Linked DNA regions of Homo sapiens: regions 1, 2, 3 and 5 are each linked to region 4. Evidence: promoter capture Hi-C in 16 types of primary human blood cells and fetal thymus (Javierre and others, 2016). All regions are on one chromosome and are shown on one strand. The core of a region is centred on a gene start or on the middle of the fragment in contact, and the rest is flanking DNA. Distances in the headings are between cores, read along the strand shown.

Region 1 (2,700 bases), core at 197-2,696, 2.2 Mb after region 4:
TAAAAAACACATGTGAACATTCAGGGAAGGGCTGTAAAAAAATATCTATAGTTCCATCACTAGGAGTTAAAGTCATTTTAAAATATATTGAATTTCCTTCCAGTGTTGGTGCAAATGTGTTACTTATGTACATGTGTCTGTGTTAAAGAGGGCCTGAGCCCTGCCTACTACCTTCCCTCTTCTTGCCCTCAGGGGTCTTTGAAGGGCTTATCAGAACTTCTGTATTCCAAGAAAAATAGCTTAAAACCACTATTCAAATTATCTGCATTCCCCAAGGAGAGGTAAAGATCACGGGAATGGCTGTTAGAGCCCAAAGTAATTTTTTGGAAGAATGGAAGAAAATACTGATGAAGAAAGGTATGCTCTCTATAGGTATGGAAATCAATTTGCTTGGACAACCCGTATTTTTTTTTTTTTTTTTTTTTGGTCAACTCTGATCATGGCCATTAGCCTCAGCACAGAGCGGTGTGTGATCGCCAACCACCAGACGGGATGAAGGCTTACACTTCCTTATCTCTGTTGAACCCCAAATCTCCAAGCTTCCAACTGAAATTCAGGCAAGAAGACAGAGCCTCCTATGGTTTCTTCAGTTCACCATCCGCTGCAAACTCATGTCATTTCAGGGAGGAAAGAAGAAACAACCTGAGTTCCACACTGTAGAGGGAAGCCCAGGGTAAAAATCTGCATTTGGCCTCTGTCTTGTCTTCCAAGTGCCACAGAATGCTGGGGGCAGGCACTGCTCTCATGGAGGAAGGGCAACTGGGGAAGCTGCAGCATTTAATCCTTTCAGCTCAGTAACTGCCATATGTAATGGCTTCAAAAGCATACCTTCAATGCTTCACCCAGTACTCACAGCTCTGAAATCTGGATGGTTTATAATTAGTAACTGAGTAAGATAAACTTGTTTTGAGTTGTAAGCAGCTCATGGCAGAATTTTAAGGGTGCAAATTAGGTTAACTGTTCCTAGATTTTCACCTAAGATGTTTCCAAGGCACAGACTGGAGATATTTTAGAGTTGGAAGAAACCTGAGAGATCAACTAGTCCAGCTCCTTTGCACTGAAAGAGATTTCCAGAGGTGTTTTCATGAGCCCAAATGACACAGCCAAATCTAAGAGGCCTTTGATTCTAGTCTAGCACTCTTCACATTCAAGCACAACATATGCTTCTTTCATTTTTTCAATTTCTTTGTCAATTAAAGTAAGAAAATGACGGCTAATGGGTTGTGAGCCATCCTGATTTCACTCTTACATAACCTTAATCAAATGTTTGTCTTTATCCAGCATAGAGGTTCTTCTGGAGGAGCACTTTGCAATAAAGATAATGTTCTCATAATATTGTTTGCTTAAAATAAAAAAATTATCTAGCACTTTGGTAGATGCAGCTGGAATTACAAAGAAATCTGAGACTCAAATCTGAAACTAAAACAAATAAAGGGATTCACTTTGGCTGGGAAATGTCCTTCCATGTGCATGTTCATGAGGAGTATGGCTGGTGGAGACAATATCTTAGATTTCCTTCTCCAATCCTGAGATACTGTCTTCACCCTTAACCCCGCGCCCCTGTCATTTTCAGCAGAAACTACTACGAGACCTCACATACACAGAAAACTTAAAATCTTTATATGTTAAATCTATATAAACAGAAAGTGTCTAATATTTAATAATATAACCTAAATACTTCTTGAAACATCTTTCAACATTAACTTGAATTTTAGTCCCAACCCCATTACAATTGAGCTCTTTGCCATAAGTTATTTCTCGAATCAAATCAGAATTAGAGGATCAAGGACATTTTTATTCAATGAGCATTTGTTGAATACCTACTGCTTTGAGCCAAGCCCTCTGGTTGACTCTGATGATCCAGAGATGAAGAAGATGGTTTTCAACCATAAGCACAATAAATAAAACACATGCATTAAGATAGTAAGTCTATCATCAACCACATTATATGTGAATGGGTTCAAGGCACTCATAAGATATGGAATTTTATCTTTGATTAAGACATTTTGGGAGGCTGAGGCAGGTAGATCACTTGAGGCCAGGAGTTCAAGACCAGCCTGGCCAACATGCCAAAACCCCATCTCTACGAAAAATACAAAAAAATTGGCCAGGTGTGCTGGTGGACACCTATAGTCCCAGCTACTTGGGAGGTTGAGGCAGAGAATCGCTTGAACTCAGGAGGTGGAGGTTGTAGTGAGCCAAGATCACACCACTGCACTCCAGCCTGGGCACAGAGAGAGACTCTGTCTCAAAAAAAAAAAAAAAAAAAAAAAAGAGAGACATTGTAGCTATATTCTAATATAATAGATACACCTAAAACAAGCAACAGTCAAAAACAAAAAAGATTCTGAAAAGAAGCTTCAGGCAAATGTTAACAAAAAAGAAAGAAGATAAATTAATAATAAAAAATAGAACTTATGTTGAAAGGATAAAAGTGGCCAGAGAGTTGTTTGGTTGTTTCATAGAGGAAAGATTTGGTTTATTTGATCTTTACTTCTGGTTTACATGATCTATGACTGAAGAAAATAAATCATTATGCATATAATAACATGGCCTGAAAAAGTTAAAATCAAAAAGTAATCAAAATATGAGAAGAAATTGTTAAAATCACAATAACAGTAGAAGACTTTAGCTTCCTTCCTCAAAATAGATGTCAGGTAGACCAAAAAGAAGAAAGAATATAGATTACATAAGAGGATT
Region 2 (2,729 bases), core at 217-2,716, 2.4 Mb before region 4:
CTAGTTTCTTACAGGAAACTAAGACAGCCGCCATCTTGCTATCTTCCCTTTAGGATCATGAAACCAATTTCCCTCATATGAAGCCATATGAAAATATGAATATAAGTAACACAAACCTCAAAGATTTCAAAGCCTGCAATGTCCAAAACACCAATGAAGTGTTGTCTTGGAAGCTTCGTATCCAGTTGCTGGTTAATGCGAGTGACCATCCACAAGAACAACTTTTCATAAACTGATTTTGAAAGAGCATTCACAGCATGGTGAACCTATCAGGGGAAAGATCAGCTACTGGATATGAAGGAAGTGGCCAGCAGGGTCCTGCACCCTTTCCCGGCCTTGAAGCTGTTACCTGATCCACAGTTTGACCTTTGGTAACGTACTCATTCCCAACTTTCACTCTAGGAAAGCACAAAGCTTTTAGGAGGTCCGAAGAGTTCAGGCCCATCAGATAGGCTGTTTTGTCAGCCACTGGCAAGAAAACAAGGACAGTGCTTAGAAAAGTAGAAGAGCTGCTTTGAAAATCATCCAGAAGTTTCAAAGGTTGGTTAAGTTCATCTTGGTACATTGTGCATTCCCTGTGGCTAAACTGCATATACATGGCCAATGGAAGCTAAGTCACTCAGAGAATATAATGGACTTTATGAAAAGCCAGGGCTGGGTCTCAGAAAGCCCTGGTCATCCCTCACTGCATCTGAAACAAGACTATTCGAGTGATTCAGGAAAAGCGAGTGGTAACAATAGCTATGGGCATCGGAGGCCCAGAAAGGGTCATTCACTTCTCCAGATGGAAGGATTAATCGCTTCCATCCATTTTTTTTTTTTTGAGACAGTCTTACTGTGTTGCCCAGGCTGGAGTGCAGTGGCACGATCTCAGTGCACTGCAACCTCTGCCTCCTGGGTTCAAGAAACTCTCATGCCGGCAGGGCACAGTGGCTCACACCCGTAATCACAGCACTTTGGGATGCCAAGGCAGGCGAATCATTTGAGGTCAGGAGTTTGAGCCTGGCCAACATGGTGAAACCCCGTTTCTACTAAAAATACAAAAAAGTTAGCCAGGCGCGGTGGTGTGTGCCTGTAATCCCAGCTACTCGGGAGGCTGAGGCAGGAGAATCACTTGAACCCAGGCAGCAGAGGTTGCAGTGAGCTGAGATCATGCCACTGCACTCTAGCCTGGATGACAGAGCAAAACTCTGTCTGACTCTCGTGCCTCAGCCTCCTGAGTAGCTGGGATTATAGGCATGCTCCACCATGCCCAGCTAATTTTTTTTAGTAGAGATGGGGTTTCACCATGTTGGCCATGCTGGTCTCGAACTCCTGACCTCAGGTGATCTGGCCCCCTCAGCCTCCCAAAGTGCTGGGATTACAGGTGTGAGCCACTGTGCCTGGCTGGATTAATTGCTTTCAAAAGCAGTACCAAGTGACCTCAGCAGATCAGCCACCCGCTCTGGTTTGCTGTCACACTGATTTTGTACCTTCTGTGCCATCCGGCTCGGCCTGCTCCTCTCGCTGCTTCTGCTTGAACTTCATGTTCCCGTAGTGCATCACGGCTCCCGTCAGCTTGTAGAGCCCAGATTTCTCTTCTGGGGTGAAGCCCAGGATGTCAATGGCGCTCTGGCATGGAAAGGGCAGCACGTCAGTCAGTTGGCCCCAGTGATGGAGGAGGAACACCCACCCCTTCTGTTGGTTCCACTTACGTCTGTAGCCAGCAGCTCCTCTGCATCATCTATGCTGGCCACCAGGATCTCCCCCTGGCTAATGAACGGGTAGTCGTAAGGGTTGGTCGTAATAAGCAGCAGCTCTGAAATGACAAATAGTTCCAGGAGGTTATGCAGATGCAAAGAAAAAACCCACCCAGTGGACTTGAGCTCCTGCACCCTGGGCTGGAACTTTTACCGCTGGATCCTAAATTGAACTTAGAATTAAAAATCTTTTAGACAGTTCCACAATACTCAGGCTGTCATGGAAAATATAGTCCAGGGAAGACTTTTCAGTCTCCCACACAATGGAGATGAAGGACCCTAGAGAGAACCTTTAAATTCCCTTGCCTTGCACGCTAATGGTGCATATCAGTGTCGGCTGGGAGAAGTTAATAGGGAAAACTGGCTGAGTGCGGGTCAGGACGAGAGCCAACCCAGGTGGTTTGGTATAATCATAGCCTTTTCTAAAATCTGTTGAAAAGCAGCAGCCTGTTTCCAAGCTGGAGACCAGAAGGCTGAGCAAATACAGCCAAAGAGCAAAGAAGCAGTGTGCATGGAGACCTCTGTGAGGGGCAGACAAGGGGCAGTGTGCAGTGCCTCCGTGGGCTTGATTATTCTGTTTGCTTTGGCGTCGCATTTGGCCATAGGTTGTTTCTGTGCCAGAACACAAGGGGGCGCCAAAGGACAGTTAGGTGTTCAGTTGCTCAGAAGGTTTTTATAAACCAGAGCTGGTCAGGAGTGGTCTAATCTTGTTGCCCTCCATTTGATTAGGTTTTCAAATTGGCATGTCACTGCCCAGATAGCCACATCCCATTTCTAAAATAAGCTTTTCCTGGCAAAGTGCAGTGGCTCACACCTATAATCCCAGCACTGTGGGAGGCCGAGTCGGGCAAATTGCTTGAGCCCAGGAGTTCAAGACCAACCTGGGCAACATGGTGAAACCTCATCTCTACAAAAAACACAAAAGGTAGCCTGGTGTGGGGGCATGCACCTGTAGTCGCAGCCACTCGGGAGGCTGGGGCTGGAGGATTA
Region 3 (2,700 bases), core at 55-2,554, 2.3 Mb before region 4:
ATTTTTGTTTTCATTTGTAATTAAAAACATTAATATCCATATTCTGGATTATCTGTGTTGTGAGTATAAATTTCAGTGCCCAGGCTTGTGTTTGCTCCATGATCTCACTGGCACCTAGCTGCCCACTGCTGTTACAGGCAGACATGAATATGATACATTCTTGCCAAATCAACACTAACCAGGCAAGGCAGGCTACACGATTAAAGGTTTCAAAGTATTTTAAATAGAAAATGCAGAGGGGCAGTTGAGTAGAGTTGGGTATGTGATAGCAGTCTGACCAAAACCCCCTCCCTTCTTGCCCTGAGCAGCACTTTGGTTTCAGCAAAATCTCTTGTCAATGTAACTGAATGTTTTCAATTTAAGTTTTGCAGGCTGTTTGGGTTTATTTGTACAACTGCTTTCTGATTTGACTTTCTGACTCTGAGTTATGAGTTCTAAGCATCAAGACTATGGAGTGTTACCTAGTTTAGGACTGTATACATTTAAACAATTTAATATAACTCATTTAATGCTGGAAATCAGACTGATGAGCTCATCTATTCCTGCTGTCATCATCGGATAAACTCAAAACCAGTTAATACAACTCTCTATAAAGACAGAAGTCCGGAAAGTCCTTTTCCTATGGTTTCCTCTTTTGGCCACTGTGGCTCTCTGCTCTTCTCTCATTCTGCTAGAGAAGCAGCAAGAGGAAAACAGAGGAGGGTCCCTCTACTTTCCTTACAATTAAGGCTTAAAGAAAAGTGCTCATTTTTCTCATCTTTTACTCCAAGGAATCCAAGTTTCCCTAATTCTACGAGGCACCACATCTGGAAGACAGGATTACTGTGTAGGCTTAATTAAGGCAAACAGGCCAGAACCTTGCTTTTAATTCAGGCTGTAGGCTCCAGGGGCACACACGTTCCAGGTTCAAAGGGACAAAGAAATCATAGTTGGCTGTTGAGACAAAGCACTGCAGTGAGACATCCCATCCCCTCTGCATCTCAACTCTTGGGATGGGCCATGGGGAGCTGCTGGATCAGTGACTCAGGGTCTTGGCCATCTTTCTTTCTACAAAGACAGCTTCACAGCTAGAAAGGCTCTTAGGATTACTCTGCCCAAACAATATTATAGAAAAAACAGAGTATGACAACTAAGAAAAATACTGAAATAATGCTAAAATACAACGCCGACTCTTCATATGATAGGAGAAAAATGTCCAAATTGAGAGGAAAATTGGTGGATAGTGGTGGTGCTAATGCCTTTTGGTGCTTCACTGTGAAACCACTGACAAGAAAAGAAACACAGTAACTTGGGCATGACCTTAAGGCTTCTGGGGCAGTGCTGATGAATATGAAGATAGTTAATTTAAGAGCTACACAAGTACAACAGAATTTCTGTTCCTTATCATTAAAAAGCACATATTTAACGCCTAACTGTCCAAGGCATATAGTCAATGGGCAAATAAACCTTTCATCTTTTGCTTTTCAGAATTCTCATTCAACCTAAAAATGCAGTTCTCCATGGCCTAAAACTGGTTCTCCAGAAGAGCAATTTCTGATACCTCTACTGGGGACACAGTGAGAACCAACACAATCTTTTTAAAATAAGTGTTGTTCCAAATGATGGCTTCTCTTTATTTCCAACATGGCACCCAAGTATCTGGTTTTAAACTGCCCTAAAATCCTATATGCCACTATAAGAGAAAAACAGGCAATTGAATTATGAGAACAGTGAATATAAATCAAACAATCATCTTTTAAAAAACTGCTTCTGGCTGGGCGCAGTGGCTCAGGCCTGTAATCCCAGCACTTTGGGAGGCTGAGGTGGGCAGGGCAGACCACCTGAGGTCAGGAATTCGAGACCCCCTGGCCTCGCCTGGCCAACATGGCAAAACTCCTTCTCTACTAAAAATACAAAAACTAGCCAGGCGTGGGAGCACATGCCTGTAATCCCAGCTACGCGAGAGGCTGAGGGAGGAGAATTGCTTGAATCCGGGAGGCGGAGGTCGAAGTGAGCCAAGATCGCACCACTGCACTCCAGCCTGGCTGACGGAGTGAGACTCCGTCTCGAAAATAAATAAAAAGTAAAAAACATGCTTCTATTATCCTTTCAAATATTCAAAATTCCTAAGGAGGCTGGATGCGGTGGCTCACGTCTGTAATCCCAGTACTTTGGGAGGCTGAGGCGGGTAAGGTCAGGAGTTCGAGACCAGCCTGGCCAACGTGGTGAAACCCCGTCTCTACCAAAAAATATAAAAAAGTAGCCAGGTGTGGTGGCGCGCACCTGTAATCCCAGCTACTCGGGAGGCTGACATAGGAGAATTGCTTGAATCTGGGAGGCGGAGGTTGCAGTGAGCGAAGATTGTGCCACTGCACTCCAGCCTGGATGACAGAATGAGACTCCATCTCAAAAAAAAAAAAAAAAAAATTCCTAAGGACTTTGCAATAATCTTAGGTATTCTCTCTTCTCAGAAGCTAGTCAGTCATTGAAAGCCTTATGACTATTTGGGATCTGGGAGCTGGTCCATGGGTTAAAACTGGAACATTTACTCACTATGTAGTCTTCATCTTCGTCCTTGGGGCCAGGGCTGTAATACACTCTGTATGCTCTGGCCACTTGATCGACCTCTTCTCTCGTGCCAGTCAAGCCAACCAGTTTGGGAGAAAATTCTAAATAAAAAATGAGAGAGACAGTGAAAAATGAGAAGCCAGTAAAACAACC
Region 4 (2,700 bases), core at 44-2,543:
CACGCCACTGACAAAAAAAAAAAAAAAAAAAAAAGTAGCTGCCCACCCCAGACTTGGAAAAATGGTAAAGCCGGTTAAAATCCCAGAGACTTCCCACCAGCCTCTGACACTGCAAAGAATATACTCACCACTTAAGCCCCCAACATTAGACCAGTGCATTCGTGTCAGGAATATGTTGTCCAGGCGAGCAACCTTTAACCTAAGAATGAAAAAACATTTAAACAGGATAACATGAACAGAACAAGGACCACTTTTGCTATAAAAAACAACTGGCCTCTCATTTCGGCTTTCAAGCCCCGTAATCAACTCCCCCTCCGAAAGCAAGAGACTGACTCACTTGTGCTCCTGCATGAGTCTCTGAACGCCTTCTCCACAGTTGAAGAGATACCTACAAGACAAACATTACACAAGACATTCAGAAGGTTTTATTCTGTAAACTCTCTGACACCAATTAGATGTTTTATTGTAGACTCTGGAAAAAAAAAAAAGAAAAAAAAATTAAAAGTCCACGTTGGACTACCGAGCCACATTTATGCTGGTGGGTTTTGAGCCCTCCTTAGCAGAGGTGGAGAGGAGTGGGGGCCTGTGTGTGTGGGTGCTAGGACAAAATGAGTCCTTTCTCCACCACCGGCTACACACCAGATCTGTCCACCCCACACGCTAACAACGACACACTGGCCTTGGGGTGCACGGAAGAGGGTGGAGCTCCGAAAGTGCTGACAGCCAGGCCGGGGCCCAAGGGTTGGGAAAAGGACGCTCAGACCCAGGCCTGAAGTTCTTCACAGATCCGCAGAAATCACATGGATGCAAAGAATCTCGGATTTCCCACCCACCATAACTCCACGAACCCCCGCAACAGTGAACCACATGTGTGAAGCAGGGAAGCCGAAGCCCTGGGAGGTGCCCCGATGCTCAGAGGCTGCGCCGCACTGAGGGCCCAGCGGGACGGGGCGTGGCTCGTTGACTGACCGGTTGAACTCGGAGAAGACGTAGAGCGCGGCGCCCGAGTCCCGGCTACCCGCTGCCACCACCTGCAGGTACACGGTGTTTGGGCCGCCGGAGCACCCCGACGGTCCGCGCTTCTCTCGCGTGCGCAGGTGCCGCAGCGGGTCCTTGCGCGGCCGCTCGCGGCGGGCGGGTGCCTGCGATATGGTGCGTCCCTGCGACATGGTGCGTCCGGCCGCGGACCGCAGCAGCGAGCAAAGCGCCCACATGCGCCCGTCTCCACCAAAACTGAGAAAGCCGCCGGTCACCTACGCCCGCGTTTCCCGTGCACCACCTAGCCGCTCCGCATGGCGGATCCAGCCAATCAGCGCGCCGTGCACCGAGCTTCCCGCCTACGCGAGGCTGCTCATCCAATAGAAAGGAGCTTTACCGCTCGGGACTTGTCAATTGACAGTGGCCATAGAGTAGAGGAATACTAGAGCGTCTCAAGCGGCCCCGCCCCTAGTTCTGTTCCGGTTTGCCGGCCGCAATTTTTTCCGGAAGCTGTTTTTCTCCTGGGGCGGGACTTCCGGAAGCACAGTGCCAGGAAAAGCCTTCCTGGGGAAGGCGGGACCTAGGAGTTTGGAGTTTCGCTAAAACGCTCCTGTTCTCACCAGATAAGAGCTGTGTCCTCCGGGCACGTCAGTCCCTCAGAGCTTGAGTTAGAGGTGGTTGTAGTGGTTGTGAGGATTAAATGTGAGGAAATCAATTGTATTGAGCATTAGCATAAGCGCTTTGCTAATTTTATTTCCATTGTAATTCGTATGCATACATGTTAGAACTTGATCATTTTTACGTGGTGTCCCGAGCTTGTAGTCCCAGCTACTTGGGAGGCTGAGGCAGGAGAATCGCTTAAGCGCGGAGGCGGAGGTTGCGGTGAGTCGAAATCGCGCCACTGCACTCCAGCCTGGGTGACACCTCGAGACCCTGTCTCAAAACAAAACAAAACAAAACAAAAATTGTAGTGTTTTTTGGAAAGAAAAGCAAGAATAGAGGACAAGCTCTAAAGCAAGAGTCTTGGCTCATTTGTTAGCTGCGTGATCTTGACCTCTCAGAGCCTCAGCTTTCTTATGTGTAAAATGTAATAACAGCAATAACAGTATCTCCTACTTCAGAATATAGAATTCAGTCACCTGATAATATATCAATAGACCTTTGAGTGGCACTGTCACAGAAGAGGCACCCAGTAAATGATAGAAAATTAATACAAAATGTTTCAACTCCTAGACAATATAGCTGACCAGGGACATCACAGAGGTAGATGTCCCAATACCAGCTTTTTGAAAAAAACACCCAGTCCCCTCTTATGTAGCTAATGAGGATTTCTCACTGAAAGGGATATCAGTTAAAGCCGCTAGAAATACAGGGAGCTCCCTTAAAAGAGGAAGATAATTTACCTGGAAGCTCCACTCAAATATGATTTTTTAAAGATAATTTACCTGGAAGCTCCACTGACATATGATTTTTTTAAATAAATACTGAAAGATGTCACTTTTATTCAGGAAGTAAGGGAGATTCAAGTCATGTAGATTCCTACTCGAAAATCTTGACACCTGACTTTCCAGGATCACATTTTCATATGGAGACCAGTTTCCTCTTGGTTTCTTCAGTTAAGTCAAAACTACACGTTCCTCTTTCCCCATATATTTTTGCTCATTAGTGTATTTCTTGAGCTGTTTTCATTCAAATATGAAATTTTTTATGGAAGATTATCAC
Region 5 (2,700 bases), core at 70-2,569, 2.3 Mb before region 4:
TAGATTTGTTTTCCCCCTTTTTACTCATTCAAGTCTTAATCTTAGATAATTTCTCACCATTCAGTGGCCACTGTGCCAATAACAAAAACAAAATACACATACCTCCTTTAACAAATATTTATAGAATATTTACTATAGTAATAAAGACAATAAAAATAGACAAACTACCAGACTCATTTACACTCTCCTAACCTGTGGAAGGCACTACTCGTTCTTTTTGAGTGAAGTATTTCCCAGATCTCTTTCCTAGATCAGAAAAAACAGTATCTGACCACAGAGTTTGATGCTTGTGTATGTAAAATGTTGCCATCTAGATACTTAAATACAGGACTGTCCAACAGAAATGCAATGTAAGCCACGTAAATAAAAGTAAACAGAAACAGATAAAATCAACTTTAATAGTATATTTAACCCATTATAGCCAAAATATTGTTTCAACATGTAATCAATACAAAAAATATTTTCTGTTCTTTTTCTACCATGTCTTTAAAATCCAGTGTATTTTACATTTATAGCCCCACTCATTTGGACACTAAATTTTCATTGGAAATACTTTATCTGTATTTAGGTATCATAAAATTTGCAATTGGAAAATTAGATTCAAATACCCAAGTTGTTCCAAACACAATTGTAAGTTTTCCAATAATCAAGTATCCATTTTTAAATGAAAATGGAAATGAAAAAAAAAAAAGCTCTCCTCCCTAGGATTACTTTGGACATCCATTTATAAAGAATGTATATAGATTTTGACCTTATTTCTCATTTAGAATGTAGTTATAGTCCCTATTGCCTTCTTGTTTGGTCCCTAATTCCTTTATTCTATCCAGCTTCCCTTTCTTTCCAAGACATGCCTGCTCATTTGATTCATCTAGAGTTCTCCTTTAGTTCACTGCACTATGCCAGCTCTGGATAAGATTAGTTTAGGGCTGGACTGGGCATGGTGGCTCACACCTGTAATCCCAGCACTTTGGGAGGCCAAGGTGGACAGATCGCTTGAACTCAGGAATTCAAGACCAGCCTGGACAACACGGTGAAACCCTGCCTCTACAAAAAATTTAAAAAAATTTAGCCGGGCATGGTGGTGCACACTTGTAGTCGTAGCTTCTTGGGAGGCTGAGGTAGGAGGATCACCTGAGCCCCGGGAGGTCAGGACTGCAGTGAGCCATGATCATGCCACTGCACTCCAGCCTGGGCAATAGAGTGGGACTGTCTTAAAAAAAAAAAAAGATCGGGGTATAGCCCTCTCTTGAATGTCTATTTCAGTATATTACCCAATCCCTGCTCCCCTCTATTTTAATCATGGGCAGCCCTCCGTAATCTTTCCAAACACTTTATATCTTCAGAGTGTTCTTACATTATCTAGATTGATCCTTGTTACTGTGTAAGTAAGTAGATCTGGCATTAATCCTATTTTATAGATAAATATCCACCAGGAGGTTTATATATTTGCCCAAATTACATAGTTACAAAGTTAAGTTAGAACTCGTATTTTTAAACTTCTATTCTCTAGCCTTTTCCACTACATTATGACACAAGACCCTGCAGAAAGTCGTCTGGAAAATATCAGACCATCTCTTACTTGTCCCATCCAATCTTACATCGAATTATATGCACCCTTAAAAAGTTATTTGGAGTTTTAAAACTATTAGCCCAAATTACCTGAAATAAACTCCTGGCTTGTTCCCCTAATGTTTATAAAAAATTGATTGAAAATATTCATTTTAAAAACGAAGTTCTTGAATTTATTTAAATTACTGTCTTGCAGTGAGTTGGCCAAGAGGACCGCATTTCCTTGTTAATATATATGTAGACCCATGAGATAAATGGGAAAAGTGTGATTACAATGGCAATAGCCAATTGAATTCTTCCACCAACTGGATTCCTATAAAGACACAAAAATTATTATAAATAAAAATCATGGATTGCTTTGGAAACAAGTATAAAGACTGAATTGATAAAACACATAATTACATTTTAGTATGTTCTCATCTCAGTTGTTTTATTGAAATATAACATTGATTTATAGAAATTATTTATATATATGCTAAATATAAATCCTTGTTTATATGTGTTACAAATACCTTGTCCCATTTGATGTCTTTTGAGGAAGAGAAGTCATTGATTAATTTGACAATGTTAAAGTTGATCTTTTCCTAATGATTTTTGTGCTGTTTAAGAATTTCCCTCACCAAGGTTTTGAAGGTATTCTCTAGAAGTTTTGTTTTGCTTTTTTTAAATTTTATCACATATTTATTAAAGATAATCATTTATAGTTTATAAAAATATACTGCCCTGACACAAAATGTTCTTGATAATGGTAATTAAAAACTACTCCCACCCCCCCATGTCCACATCAATATTCAGTTTAGATTGGTTTAATCTTGAAGTGTAATCCAGTAAGACTGAAGACCAAACACTTCAGGGTCCTGGACAGGATAATAAAATACTCATAAGCCTTCTGGATCCTTGGATTGACTGACATCAATAAGGGAACCAATTTTTGATGTTGTAAAAGAAATGTGTTCATCTCCAATAATGATTTCAAGCTCCTGCCGGCCCTCTCGGTTGGGAGGAGGCCATAACGCATCATCCTCTTTGGTAATTTCACTGTCATCAATTATACTCTTCAGTTCCTCCATCATACTTTTATGTACATAAGCCTCTTTTCTGATCATGACATCATTCTTGTAATTGCTGTGT

Evidence for each region. The method cuts DNA at HindIII sites, captures the fragments that hold promoters and counts their contacts. A CHiCAGO score of 5 or more calls a contact.
Region 1: a fragment that was not itself captured here is called in contact with the fragment with the promoter of ELAC2 in region 4 in 1 of 17 cell types (monocytes); the score reaches 6.6 in monocytes.
Region 2: a fragment that was not itself captured here is called in contact with the fragment with the promoter of ELAC2 in region 4 in 1 of 17 cell types (neutrophils); the score reaches 6.1 in neutrophils.
Region 3: a contact is called between a fragment that was not itself captured here and the fragment with the promoter of ELAC2 in region 4, in 1 of 17 cell types (neutrophils). The highest score is 14.3, in neutrophils.
Region 5: a contact is called between a fragment that was not itself captured here and the fragment with the promoter of ELAC2 in region 4, in 1 of 17 cell types (neutrophils). The highest score is 5.6, in neutrophils.

The regions. Positions count from the first base shown.
Region 1 is chr17:15,240,002-15,242,701 of GRCh38, forward strand. The region is part of intron 3 of PMP22 (peripheral myelin protein 22); the gene reads right to left. Among named protein-coding and RNA genes, the nearest start is that of MIR4731, 10 kb to the right of the region's middle. The HindIII fragment of the contact is 1,819 bases long and covers 538-2,356 here.
Region 2 is chr17:10,644,235-10,646,963 of GRCh38, forward strand. It overlaps MYH3 (myosin heavy chain 3), which reads right to left. Exons shown (of 41, transcript NM_002470.4): 11 at 1,695-1,798; 12 at 1,473-1,611; 13 at 350-468; 14 at 117-266. Among named protein-coding and RNA genes, the nearest start is that of MYH3, 12 kb to the right of the region's middle. The HindIII fragment of the contact is 2,109 bases long and covers 413-2,521 here.
Region 3 is chr17:10,684,195-10,686,894 of GRCh38, forward strand. It overlaps SCO1 (synthesis of cytochrome C oxidase 1), which reads right to left. Exons shown (of 6, transcript NM_004589.4): 5 at 2,533-2,648. Among named protein-coding and RNA genes, the nearest start is that of SCO1, 12 kb to the right of the region's middle. The HindIII fragment of the contact is 3,317 bases long and covers 1-2,700 here.
Region 4 is chr17:13,016,734-13,019,433 of GRCh38, forward strand. ELAC2 (elaC ribonuclease Z 2) reads right to left here and starts at 1,294. Exons shown (of 24, transcript NM_018127.7): 1 at 970-1,294; 2 at 338-388; 3 at 129-199. The coding sequence starts at 1,214. RefSeq lists enhancers at 610-1,110, 622-731, 752-811 and a silencer at 1,332-1,411. The HindIII fragment of the contact is 8,738 bases long and covers 1-2,700 here.
Region 5 is chr17:10,713,707-10,716,406 of GRCh38, forward strand. It overlaps TMEM220 (transmembrane protein 220), which reads right to left. Exons shown (of 6, transcript NM_001004313.3): 6 at 1-1,882. The coding sequence ends at 1,747. It also overlaps the pseudogene MAGOH2P. Among named protein-coding and RNA genes, the nearest start is that of TMEM220-AS1, 15 kb to the right of the region's middle. The HindIII fragment of the contact is 7,044 bases long and covers 1-2,700 here.